2 separate regions of the Homo sapiens genome follow, and region 1 is linked to region 2. Evidence: promoter capture Hi-C in 16 types of primary human blood cells and fetal thymus (Javierre and others, 2016). All regions are on one chromosome and are shown on one strand. The core of a region is centred on a gene start or on the middle of the fragment in contact, and the rest is flanking DNA. Distances in the headings are between cores, read along the strand shown.

Region 1 (6,372 bases), core at 2,832-5,331, 200 kb before region 2:
CCAAGGTTTTGCATGTAGCTCATTTTACATTAACCATACACCCTTGTTCTCTGTTCCTGCTATATCAAATTGGACAGTCCTAACACAGAAGAACATCCCTGTGGGTCCATTCCCAGCCCTGCCTGGAGTTCTGGTCACAACGTGAAGTTCTTTCCGAAAGAGGTAGGTTTGATGTCAGCTGTCTTCCCCTCTTTCCCTTAGAAACTGTGCATGAAGTGGCCCTGAAGGACAAGGAGCCTGACACTCAGGATGCAGATGAAGTGAAGGTGAGTAAGGAAGGTGTCAGGGACAATTGGGGCCTGGTGTGGTGAAAGCTGTGCTGGCCCTCACAGAGCTTGTTGCTGGGAGTCTGGCCTTTGAGCTTGGGGTGGGGTTGTTTGCAGAAGGCTCTGGAGCTGCAGATGGAGAGTCACCGGGAGGCCCATCACCGGCAGCTGGCCCGGCTCCGGGACGAGATCAACGAGAAGCAGAAGACCATTGATGAGCTCAAAGAGTAAGGGTTCCCAAGGGCGACTCCAGCCCCTCCCGGGTCCTGTCACCTTGCTGTATTGACTCACATGTCCCCTCTGGGTCTGATTCTTTAACATCCATGTGTCATTCCCTCAACAATGCCACAACTTCGTAGCCCCACCTCAGGAGACACATGGAATAACGACTAGTCCCTATCCTTGAGGGTCCCAGGATTAGAGAGGTCAGGGTTCCTGGCTCTGTCATGGAAACAGTGGCCTGAGTCTGCCTCTGGTATCTGAAGGTGGACACATCAATTCTAACTGGACTCACTCGTTCAAAAAGGAAGAAGTTTGAAGAGCTGGCCTTCCCTTCCCCCTCATTAACATCTTTCTCCCCCATCTCCATTACCTTCTGATGCTCTGTAGCCTAAATCAGAAGCTCCAGTTAGAGCTAGAGAAGCTTCAGGCTGACTACGAGAAGCTGAAGAGCGAAGAACACGAGAAGAGCACCAAGCTGCAGGAGCTGACGTGAGTGGCATGGATTTACCTGTAAAACTACAGCCTTGTAGGCTCAGAACTGTGAACTCAGACACGCTTGCAGAGGCAGGACACACATGCAGACATGATAGGGTGACTCATGGGAAAAATATGATGGGGTAGGGACGGGACCAAAAGGACACTCTCAGCAAAGACTGCCGTTGAGTATTCACCAGTATGGAAGGAGGTTTACGTGTTCTATTCAGTGTAAAAACAGGTTACAAAACCATATGCATGGTATGATCCCATAAAAATGTATACATGGATATGTAGGCATAGAAAAAAGTCTAGAAAGGTGGACACCAGAAGGTTAATGTTGGTTTGATCTGTAAATAGTAGAATCATAGGCTTTTTATAAAAACTCACCTTATGTCTCTCTTTAAAATTCTTTTCTAATTTTTGCACAGTAAACATGAGTAACTTGTGTAATAAATAATAATAGGCTGGGTGCGATGGCTTACACCTATAATCTCAGCACTTTGGGAGGCCAAAGCAGGTGGACTGCTTGAGCTCAGTAGTTCGAGACCAGCCTGGGCAACATGGCAAAACCCTGTCTCTACTAAAAATACAAAAATTAGCTGGGCATGGTGGCATACGTCTGTGGTCCCAGATGCTTGGGAGGCTGAGGTGGGAAGGATCCCTTGAGCCCAGGAGGTTGAGGCTGCAGTGAGCCCTGATTGTGCCACTGTACTCTATCTAGCCTAGGTAACAGAATGAGACCCTGTTTCACAAAATAACAATAATAGTAATACTTAAATGGAGATAAAAGTAATAGAGGAAGAGGCAGGAGGAAGGAGAGTCCTGAGGGATCTTTCCATTTCCCTTATTTCTCTTGCTACAGATTTCTGTACGAGCGACATGAGCAGTCCAAGCAGGACCTCAAGGGTCTGGAGGAGACAGTTGTGAGTGGTTCCCTTCTGTGCCAAATTCACAGGACTGGGGAGTGGGGAGGCTTCATTTCTTCCTAACCCTATTCCTCCTGCCCTTTTGCAGCCATTCTGTAGCGTAATCAAGACACATTTTTTCCTAAAGGATAAGTGACTCACTTGATTATAGAGACTGGAGGTACCTATAATTCTGGAGGAATAGGACAGACCTGGTATCTGGCTATTCCCAATTTTTCATCATTCTTTCCAGGCCCGGGAACTCCAGACCCTCCACAACCTTCGCAAGCTGTTCGTTCAAGACGTCACGACTCGAGTCAAGAAAGTGAGTGCTGTCCTTGGGGTTTTGTCAGCCCCCACATCCTCCTCCTATCCTTAGGTTTCTCCTGCCCCTGTTGCCCCTATGGGGCTGGCTTGGCCTGGTCTTGGTGGGACCTGTTTGGCCTCAGGACAGCCACGTCTTTCCTTCTATCTGTTCTCAGAGTGCAGAAATGGAGCCCGAAGACAGTGGGGGGATTCACTCCCAAAAGCAGAAGATTTCCTTTCTTGAGAACAACCTGGAACAGCTTACAAAGGTTCACAAACAGGTAAGAGTCTGCTGAAGGAGTGAAGAGAATTTTTGAGGCCGGGTAGCTAGCATACCAAATCCTCAGAGGCCCCTTGGATTCAGGAAAATCTAGTTGCATGTTTTCCTTACTGTTCGCTTTTACTTTCCCTACTAATCCCTTCTTTATACCATATTTGGTCCACTTGTACCTTGTTCTTTGTTTCATGCCTGTATTCCCTTCTCAAAGTTTCTAACCCACCTCTGCTCAAAGTGGAATTCCCCAGGCCTACCTTGGAGGGAGAGGTTGAAACTAACAGAGGCATGGGCTGTAACTATACAGGAGGGAGACTGGTCAGACGTTACCCAGAGATGGAAGGCAGGGAGATGAGAAGAAGCAAGGGAGTTGGGCTTCTTTCGTGGAGAGAACTCCATCTGTCTAGGTCTGTGGCAGGCATGCAGGGACATTAAATGATGTCCCTGGCTAGGCACAGTGGTGCATGCCTGTAGTCCCAGCGCTTCAGGAAGCCGAGGCGGGCGGATCACTTGAGCACAGGAGTTCAAGACCAGCCTAAGCAACATGGCGAAACCCCATCTCTACAAAAAATACAAAAATTAGCCGGATGTGGTGGCACACACCCATAGTCCCAGCTACTTGGGAGGCTGAGGTAGGGCAATTGCTTGAGCGCAGGAAGTAGAGGCTGCAGTGAGCTGTGATCATGCCACTGCACTCCAGCCTAGGTGACAGAGTGAGACCCTGTTTCAATTAAAAAAAAATGATGTCCCTAAGATGGCCCAACCAGCCCCTGGTTGGGGCCCCAGTCAAAACTCCTGTGTATTAAGTTGCTGCCTCTCTGTCCCCCTCCTTGCTGTTGCGGTTCTTTAGGTGGATGACTGGGTTTCAAAGGTATGGGCTGGGGATGCAGAAGGGCAGTCCAAAGGAGTCAGGACAGGAAATGTTTGGTGCATGCTGGGTAGGGGCACTCTCACTAGCACTAAATATCTGAGCCTTGAAGACAGGCTCGGCAGGCTGTCAACTGGTCCTTTTAACTAATTCATAAAATAAACCCTAACCTATACTTCATTCCTTTCCTTTCAAATCTACCTTAAGATTCCATTTAAACTTACATTCTCACTAGCCTAGCACTTAAACTTCTTTTCCTCCCAGTATAATGCCCAGCTTATATAGTAAATATTCAGTACTTTTTTTTTTCTTAATGAATCCTAAACCTGTGCCCAGTGATAATGTACAGAGTTTATTTATCTTATTTAGGCCTGCAGAGGGCTTTGCTACGATTTTATTTCCTTTATTATGAAACTGAGTAACAAAATTATAGAAAAGTTGAAAGGCAGATAGGAAACATTTGAAATCAATTCTGCCATTCGATTTTCATTCCCGCATTCACTTTCCCTCTCTGTCCAAATCCATATTATGTTGCTTAGAACACACACACACATGTGTGTGCTACTCTGGGCCTCTCTGCCTATGGGAAAGCCCTGCTCTATGGAGCAAGCCCCAGAAAAATTTCCATGAAAAAACACAACCACACACTGTTTCCTTTATCGTCACTGAAGCCTCTGCCTCTGTTCAAAGTCCCAAAAAAACAAAAATGACTCACCTATAGGATAAATAGAGGACTCACTACAATTTCCTACCTCAGCAGACACAAGAGTAAAAAGGAAAAGGAGATAAAAACTTCTCAGTTAAGAGAATCTTAACAGCCAGGACTATAGCCCTATATCAATTAAGCTAAAGTATTGTCACAGCAAAACATTGCTTATACTCCATAAATTGTCCAAATGGAAACTGCATGGAAGGGTTTCTAGCTTGTCCCCTTGAGCCCCCAGTGTTCCCCGCTATGCTGATTTACCCGCTGTCTTCCAAGGCCCTGCTCCTTTTGCAACCTATAGTGCCCCCAGTCATTGTGTGGAACCTGTAAAAAGATCAGGAAGTCTTTTCGGGCTGCAGGGTGGTTGCTCCCATGCTCTAGCTTAATTTCACTGGGGGAGGGATAACCCAGGAAGTCCTTGAATGTGAAGGTAATGAGTGCAAATGTTTGTGAGACCTCAAACATTTTCTTTCCTTCCTACGGGGCGGGCTCTGCCTGTCTATATGTGTATGTCAGGGGCTCCTGAATTCCAGCTTCTGCTCCTGCTCTGCACTGCACCTGCCATGCACAGATTCTCCTCAATGCCACAGCCACCAAACTGCTACTGTGCCCTTGCTGCCCCACCCTTTGCATGCCCACAAAGCCCTCTCTGGGGAAGCGGGTCCCTCATCCCCATGGCCGCCCTGGGGCTATTGATCTGGCACATGCTGGGAGATGTGGGGGAAACCAGATGGAGACAGGACAAGGCGCTCTCACAAGAGTTCTGGGCTGCAGTGGAGATGGCAGGTTTTACTGCCTAGAAAATTATATAACTTTTAAATGCCTGACCACCCACCCTTCGCTCTGGGAGAAGGAATGAGCTGGACAGAACAGTCCATTACATAAAGGCAATGAGGCCTTTTGAGGAAATGACATGGTCTCCATCTTCTCTGACTCCTGATTTTTCTTTATTCTCTCTCCTCACCCCTGTCCCCTACGCTCCTCTGGGTGACCGTCTTGGGTCACTTGCCTTCCTTTCCACTTCTTCCCTTTGGCTTGCCCCATAGCTGGTACGTGACAATGCAGATCTGCGTTGTGAGCTTCCTAAATTGGAAAAACGACTTAGGGCTACGGCTGAGAGAGTTAAGGCCCTGGAGGGTGCACTGAAGGAGGCCAAGGAGGGCGCCATGAAGGACAAGCGCCGGTACCAGCAGGAGGTGGACCGCATCAAGGAGGCCGTTCGCTACAAGAGCTCGGGCAAACGGGGCCATTCTGCCCAGATTGGTGAGTAGGTGTTAGCAGGCAAGGTGGGAGTATCTCCTGAAGCAAATTTAGCAAATTGCTAATTGCCAAGCAACTAGATTATTGCTTCTTACCTACCCCTAGCCTCATCCCACTTCCCCCCAAAAAGTAAAAAAGTGATTATGTTACAAGCAACTCAGTTCAACCCCAGCTAAATGACCTCAGGGACCAGGGCAAATGCAGGGTCATAGCCTCCTCATGGTTGTTTTCTTTCTTTATTGCAGCCAAACCCGTCCGGCCTGGCCACTACCCAGCATCCTCACCCACCAACCCCTATGGCACCCGGAGCCCTGAGTGCATCAGTTACACCAACAGCCTCTTCCAGAACTACCAGAATCTCTACCTGCAGGCCACACCCAGCTCCACCTCAGATATGTAGTGAGTGACCACACGTGTGGGTTGGAGTCCCACCCAAAGCTCCCTGGACCCTAGAAGGCATAGGGTGGGGGCAGTTATTGGTTGTGGCTTAATTATTTTCCTAAACCCTTTCTCAACTTCATGCCTATGATTAGAAGGTAGGTGTCTGCCCTCCCAGCCTGTGGCCATGTTTGTTTTCCTCTGCTCTCTGGGGATGGGGAGGGCTGAGCAGCTCTATCACTGAGGATGAGTGTGGATTAGTGGTCCTCAGACTAGTGGAGGGTGGGTGTCAGAGGCTGCCTCTTTCCTCTGCTCCATCCAGCTTTGCAAACTCCTGTACCAGCAGTGGAGCCACATCTTCTGGCGGCCCCTTGGCTTCCTACCAGAAGGCCAACATGGACAATGGTGAGTGAAAAAGATGGGTAATCCCACCTTTGGGGTCCTCAGGGCAAGTTGAGAGGCATAAAAGTAAGTGACCTTAGTGTACAAAAAACACTGACTGAACCTTTCTGGTGTGCCAAGGCTTCAAATAAAAAAAAAAATACATATAGCCAGGTGTGGTGGCATGCACCTGTAGTCCTAGCTACTTGGGAGGTTGAGATAGGAGGATTGCTTGAGCTCAGGAGCTTAAGGCTGAAGTGCACTGTGAATACACCTGTGAATAGCCACTGCACTCAGCCTGGGCAGCATAGTAAAGCCCCATCTCTAAA
Region 2 (5,735 bases), core at 2,654-5,153:
AGTCTTGCACTTGTTGCCCAGGTCGGAGTGCAATGGCACAATCTCGGCTCATTGCAACCTTCGCCTCCCAGGTTCAAGCGATTCTCCTGCCTCAGCCTCCCTAGTAGCTGGCATTACAGGCGCCCGCCACCACACCCAGCTAATTTTTTTGTATTTTTAGTAGATATGGGGTTTCACCATTTTGGTCAGGCTGGTCTGACCACTCAATTTAAAATTTCATTCTCCAGCCACTCAATTTAAAATTACATTCAGGCTGCCAAGACTTTGTCCTCTATGCCCTGGGGTCTCTGGACCTTCCAGGTAGGAGCCGAGAACCCTTGGTTGGTCCCTCTAACTTGCATTTCTCCCCATCCCTCAAGCAATTCTTATCCCCCTTCCCTGCTTGGGGCTTCACCATGGCATATATTACCATCTGATGTACAGTGTATTTTATTTTATTTATTTTGTTTGTTGTTATCATCTGTTTCTTGCCACTGGACCATAAGCTCTGTGAGGGGGGATTCTTATCTTCTTAGTTCATCATTATGTTCTCAGCACTTGGCATATAGGCACATAATAAATATGAATGAATGAATGGATTCCTAGTACTTCTTGCTTCTCTTTCTATCATAGTCATCATGATTATGATGCAGTACCTAGTGTGTCTCTACCTCTAGAATGAAACAAAGAAAGCTGTGTTTTTGTCTTGCTCACCTTATATACCCAGCACTTAGAAGGTTCTCCAAATTATATCTACTGCATGAATGAAGGTTTCTGAGATGCTAATCTGACCATCTTCACCCGTTTCTGCCCTTAAAGCTTACTGCCCTCAGTATCGAACCTGAATCTTCTTAGCATGTCATAATCACTTTCCCTTTGTCTCATGTCTTGACACTTTTCTCCCCCTTCCACATCCTCTAAGATGCAGCCTTTCCTGAATATGCCATGCTCTTTCACTCCCAGGCCTTTGTACTCACTGTTCTCTTCTTGGAAAGCTCCACCTGACTAACTCCTACTTGTCCTTTAGGGCTCAGCTGAGGTCACATTTTCTGGGAAGCTTTCCAGACCCTTAAGGCGAGCTTGTGTCAGTGGGGGTGGGTACAGAACCCATCTCCAGCTTAGTCCTGCCCAGGCTTCTGCTGACATCTGATTGTTGTGTGTTGGCCAGAGAGGTTGAAGATTAGCTCAGAGAGAATGTTGATGTTGTAGAATGTAGAGTAATGAGAATAGCAGTGGGTGAAATGGAGGTTGAGGCAACTAAAAGCCAGTGTGGGCTCTGGGCTGTCAAGACATTGTCCTCTATGCTCTGAGGTCTCTGGACCTTCCAGGCAGGAGCCAAGAACCCTTGGTTGGTTCCTCTGACTTGCATTTTTCCTCCTTCCTCTCTCTCAGGGGGGGATGTTACCATCACTGACCTGCCCCTGGCCCTAGAACAGATCCAGGGCAACGTCCAGGCCAATGTGCCAGCTGGAGGCCAGGCCCAGGTGCGTGCCTTGTCCTGGGGGATTGACCATCATGTCTTCCCTGCAAACTATGACCTGGTGCTGGGGGCTGATATCGTGTACCTGGAACCCACCTTCCCTCTGCTGCTGGGGACCCTCCAACACCTGTGCAGGCCCCATGGCACCATCTATCTGGCCTCCAAGATGAGAAAGGAGCATGGGACAGAGAGCTTCTTTCAGCACCTCCTGCCCCAGCATTTCCAACTGGAGCTGGCTCAGCGGGATGAGGATGAAAATGTCAACATCTATAGGGCCAGGCACAGGGAACCAAGACCTGCTTGACATCACCCTTGCTGTTCTTCTCAATCTCTTGCTCTAATGAAGGAACTGTGTATCTCAAAAACCATATTTCCAGAGCCACAAACATGAGGACCAAAAAGGATGGATTTCCCTGGCCTCTCTCACTTTCCTCCTTCCCTCTTTGTTACCCCAGATACTCTTGGGCAGGTGCAGTGAGGTGCCTGCTTACAAGGAATCCCAGAGTTCTGGCAGCACTAGTGTTAGAACACCAAGGAGGTTCCTGGCTCCTGTTCTCAGAGAAGGAGGATGGTAAGGTATCCAGGATTTTTAGGGGGTAAGGGAGATATATGGGATGTGAGAGCAGTGATTGTAGACAGACTGTCACTGATCACTTCCATTCCTGTTGCTGTTTACACAGAATGGACTTTAAAAAAATTCTGTGGGATTTTTTTTTCTTTTTTTCTTTTTTTTTGAGACAGGGTCTCACTCTGTCATCCAGGCTGGAGTGCAGTGGTGTGATCACAGCTCACTGCAGCCTCAACCTCTGAAGGCCCAGATGATCTTCCTGCCTCAGCTCCCCAAGTAGCTGGGACTAGAGGCATGCGCCACCACACCCGGCTAATTTTTGTATTTTCAGTAGAGACAGGGTTTCGCCATGTTGCCCAGGGTGGTCTCAAACTCCTGGGCTCAAGTGATCCACCCGCCTTGCCTCCCAAAGTGCTGGGATTGCAGGCATGGCCCACTGTGCTAGCCTAGGATTTTTTTTTTTTTTTAAGAAAGAATTAAGCCTTAAAAATCTATTGTGCAAGAACCCAACTTTTACTCAGGAGCTGAGAAGGAAGAAGCCTCAAACCACCCATTTCCTGCTTTTTAGAGATAGAGTCTAGTGGAACCATGGCTCTAACTGGGTCAAGTCCTCCTAGCTCTGAAGCTAAGGCTGCAGAGCTGTCCTTTGGACTGTATTTCTTCATGCTTTCCAGAGTTAGAGCCTTGATCACGGAACATCATTGTGTGCAGAAGAATACTGTACCTAGTACTAAGTTCTTTTCATCTTTGATTTTTCTTTAGCTTCATCAGTCCTTCCTTCCTAATCTCTAATCCCCTGAAGCCTAACACAGTTCCTAATGTGTTTTGCCTTAACCTCTTTTCTCTTCCCACATTGGTACTTCTGGTTGGGGCTCTCTTTACTTACTGCTTAGGCACATAGTCACCTTCTCTGGACTCCCTGCTTCCATGCTTTCTCCTTCAGTCCATTCCGCAAACTCTTGTGATCTTCCAAAATTAGCTCTGATTAGCTTTCACTTCCTGTAGAAGCAAGAACAAGCTCCTCTGCTTGGTACTTAGTCTGTGTCCATGTGATCCAAAATTACCTTCCTATTGCATTTCCTACTCCTTTGCTACGTGTATTGGACCTCTGGCCAAATTACAAAAGATGTACTCTTTGTTCTCTAAAACCACACTAAAGTTTTCTGACTTCTTTCACACTCTTTATGATAATCCTCTGCCTGAAAGGCTATTGCCACCTGTCAAAATCTTCATTATTCTTTGCCTCTTTCCTGAGCCTCTTGCTTGAATGTGATTTCTTTCTCCCTGAGACCCATAAGGTTCATCTTATGGGACCTTAATTTGTCTTGCATGGACATTTGTGATTCTCATTTTCTCACCATTAAATTACCTTGGAGGGTAGGGCTGTGGTTTACTCCTGTCTAAACCCCTGAAGCCTAACACAGTTCCTGGCACACAACAGGTGTTCAACAGATATTGTGCTCATTCAATAAATATTTACTCGCTTTGTTTAATGGATTCCACCCCTGCCTTCCTAGGTGACCTTGGACAAATTCTCGAACCCATTCACCAACCACACAAGTTTGTTGTGAGTCATAAATGGATAATGAATATAAATGCGCATTGAAAATAAACATAAAATGTTACCCACATTTCTTGTGTTGTTGTTTTGTGACGACTTTATTTCTTGGTTTCTGTTATTTTACCTGGGGTGGGAGGTGGGGGGTAATTCCCGTATGAAATGTGTCGTCTCAAGAAATCAAGTAGAGGCGAGGACTGTGTTCCTCCGGCCAGCAGGTGGCACCATACTCGTTTGGTGCGTTCCGCTGGAGAATTCTGGCCCTTCCGCCGCGCCGTAGGTTTGTTGCCTCACCAGTGCGCCCGCCGGAGGGTGTTTATCGCGGCTAGAGAGATGTCGCTGCTGCGGTCGCTGCGCGTGTTTCTGGTCGCGCGGACCGGGAGCTACCCGGTGAGAAGTCCTGGTGCTGGTACCGACCTGCTGTCCCTGCAGCTCTCCTGTGCGCCTGTACCTTTCCCTTCCTCCCAACCTCGTTTGACTCCATCTCACCTTCCCCGACAGCATTGCCTCTGCCCAGTCCAGCCCCGGTGCACCCCCCTTTGCACACTGTCCGCTCCCTAAGGTCGCTTCCCTGCCCGTGTACCCTTCACCCTCTGGAGTTTGCTGCTTCCTGCTCCTCATCCCTTTCTTATCTCATCTAGGCTGGGTCTCTTCTGCGTCAGTCGCCCCAGCCAAGGCACACATTTTATGCTGGGCCCCGTCTGTCTGCCTCGGCCTCCAGCAAGGAGCTCCTCATGAAGCTGCGGCGGAAAACAGGCTACTCCTTTGTAAATTGCAAGAAAGCTCTGGAGACTTGTGGCGGGGACCTCAAACAGGTGTGTGTGTGGAGGGGTGCAGGGCGGAGTACTAGAGCTCGACCTCAGACTCTTGGGGCGGTCACGCTGGGGAGCATAAAGTTAGACTGCTCTTCAGTGACCATAATGGCACAGTCCTAAGTGGAAATCTGGCTTAAATGACAACCTTGGCCTTGACTTTGTCTTATTTGAAAGCAGTTGAGTATCCCAGGATTAACAAACCAGACTGTTACGGTGTTTCTTGTTGCCTGGAGCTGAAAGGGTTTGTGTGAGCTTTGGAGTCAGATTGTTCAGGAGTCAAATTGTGGGGCCCCCACACTGTCTGACTTTAGACTTTTTTTTTTTTTTTCAGACGGAGTCTTGCTCTGTGGCCCAGGCCGGCGTGCAATGGCACGATGTTGGCTCACTGCAACCTCCGCCTCCCGGGTTCAAGCGATTCTCCTGCCTCAGCCTCCTGAGTAGTTGGGATTACAGGCGTGCGCCACGACACCCGGCTATTTTATTTTTTATTTTTTATTTTTTTTTGTATTTTTAGTAGAGATGGGGTTTCGCCGTGTCGGCCAGGCTGGTCTCGAACTCCTGGCCTCAGGTGATCCGCCCGCCTCGGCTTCCCAGAGTGGTGGGATTACAGGAGTGAGCCACCGCGCCCGGCTGACTTTAGACATCTTAATCTTTCAGAGTTGTGTAGTTTTTGCCTGTACGGTCATGCGTCTCTTAATAGGAAGATACATTCTGAGAAATGGCGTCGTTAGGAGATTTTGGCTTATGCACATCATAGAGTACCTACACAAACCTAGATGGTATATTGTACTACAACCTGGGCTATATGGAATTGCCAGCTGCTCCTAGGCTACAAACCGTTACAAAATGTTACTGGACTGAATACTGTAGGCAGTTGTAACACAGTGGTAAGTATTGTGTATCTAAACATAGAAAAAGTACAGTAAATAGGCATAAAAGATAAAAAACGATACATCTCCATAGGGAACTTATCATGTATGGAGCTTGCAGGACTGGAAGTTGCTCTGGGTGAGTCAGTGAGTGGTGAGTGAATATGAAGGCCTGCCTTAGGACACTATGGTGCACTATAGTAGACGTTAAAGCACAGTACACATAAGCTACATTACATTTATAAGAAATTTTTTTCTGTGATAATAAGTTAACCTTAGTTTAATGTAACATTTTTATTTTATAAACTTTTAACATGTTTTAAATTTTTGGACTCTTTTGTAATAACAGCATAAAACACATATTGTACAGCTGTACCAAAATATTTTTCTTTATGCACTTTTTCTGTGAGCTTTTTTCTGTTTTTAAAATTTTAAACTTTTTTTGGCTGGGCGTGGTGGCTCATGC

Evidence for each region. Contacts are between HindIII fragments. The CHiCAGO score rates a contact against its expected background, and 5 or more counts as called.
Region 1: a contact is called between a fragment that was not itself captured here and the fragment with the promoter of TSFM in region 2, in 3 of 17 cell types (naive B cells, total B cells and naive CD4 T cells). The highest score is 6.6, in naive B cells.

What each region holds. Positions count from the first base shown.
Region 1 is chr12:57,575,886-57,582,257 of GRCh38, forward strand. It overlaps KIF5A (kinesin family member 5A), which reads left to right. Exons shown (of 29, transcript NM_004984.4): 18 at 202-266; 19 at 384-493; 20 at 876-977; 21 at 1,828-1,888; 22 at 2,124-2,195; 23 at 2,353-2,457; 24 at 5,071-5,287; 25 at 5,530-5,683; 26 at 5,985-6,067. Among named protein-coding and RNA genes, the nearest start is that of PIP4K2C, 12 kb to the right of the region's middle. The HindIII fragment of the contact is 6,349 bases long and covers 908-6,372 here.
Region 2 is chr12:57,778,884-57,784,618 of GRCh38, forward strand. TSFM (Ts translation elongation factor, mitochondrial) reads left to right here and starts at 3,904. Exons shown (of 6, transcript NM_005726.6): 1 at 3,904-3,975; 2 at 4,227-4,400. The coding sequence starts at 3,919. EEF1AKMT3 (EEF1A lysine methyltransferase 3) reads left to right here. Exons shown (of 3, transcript NM_015433.3): 3 at 1,372-3,658. The coding sequence ends at 1,763. RefSeq lists enhancers at 3,665-4,534, 3,888-3,957. The HindIII fragment of the contact is 6,425 bases long and covers 1,035-5,735 here.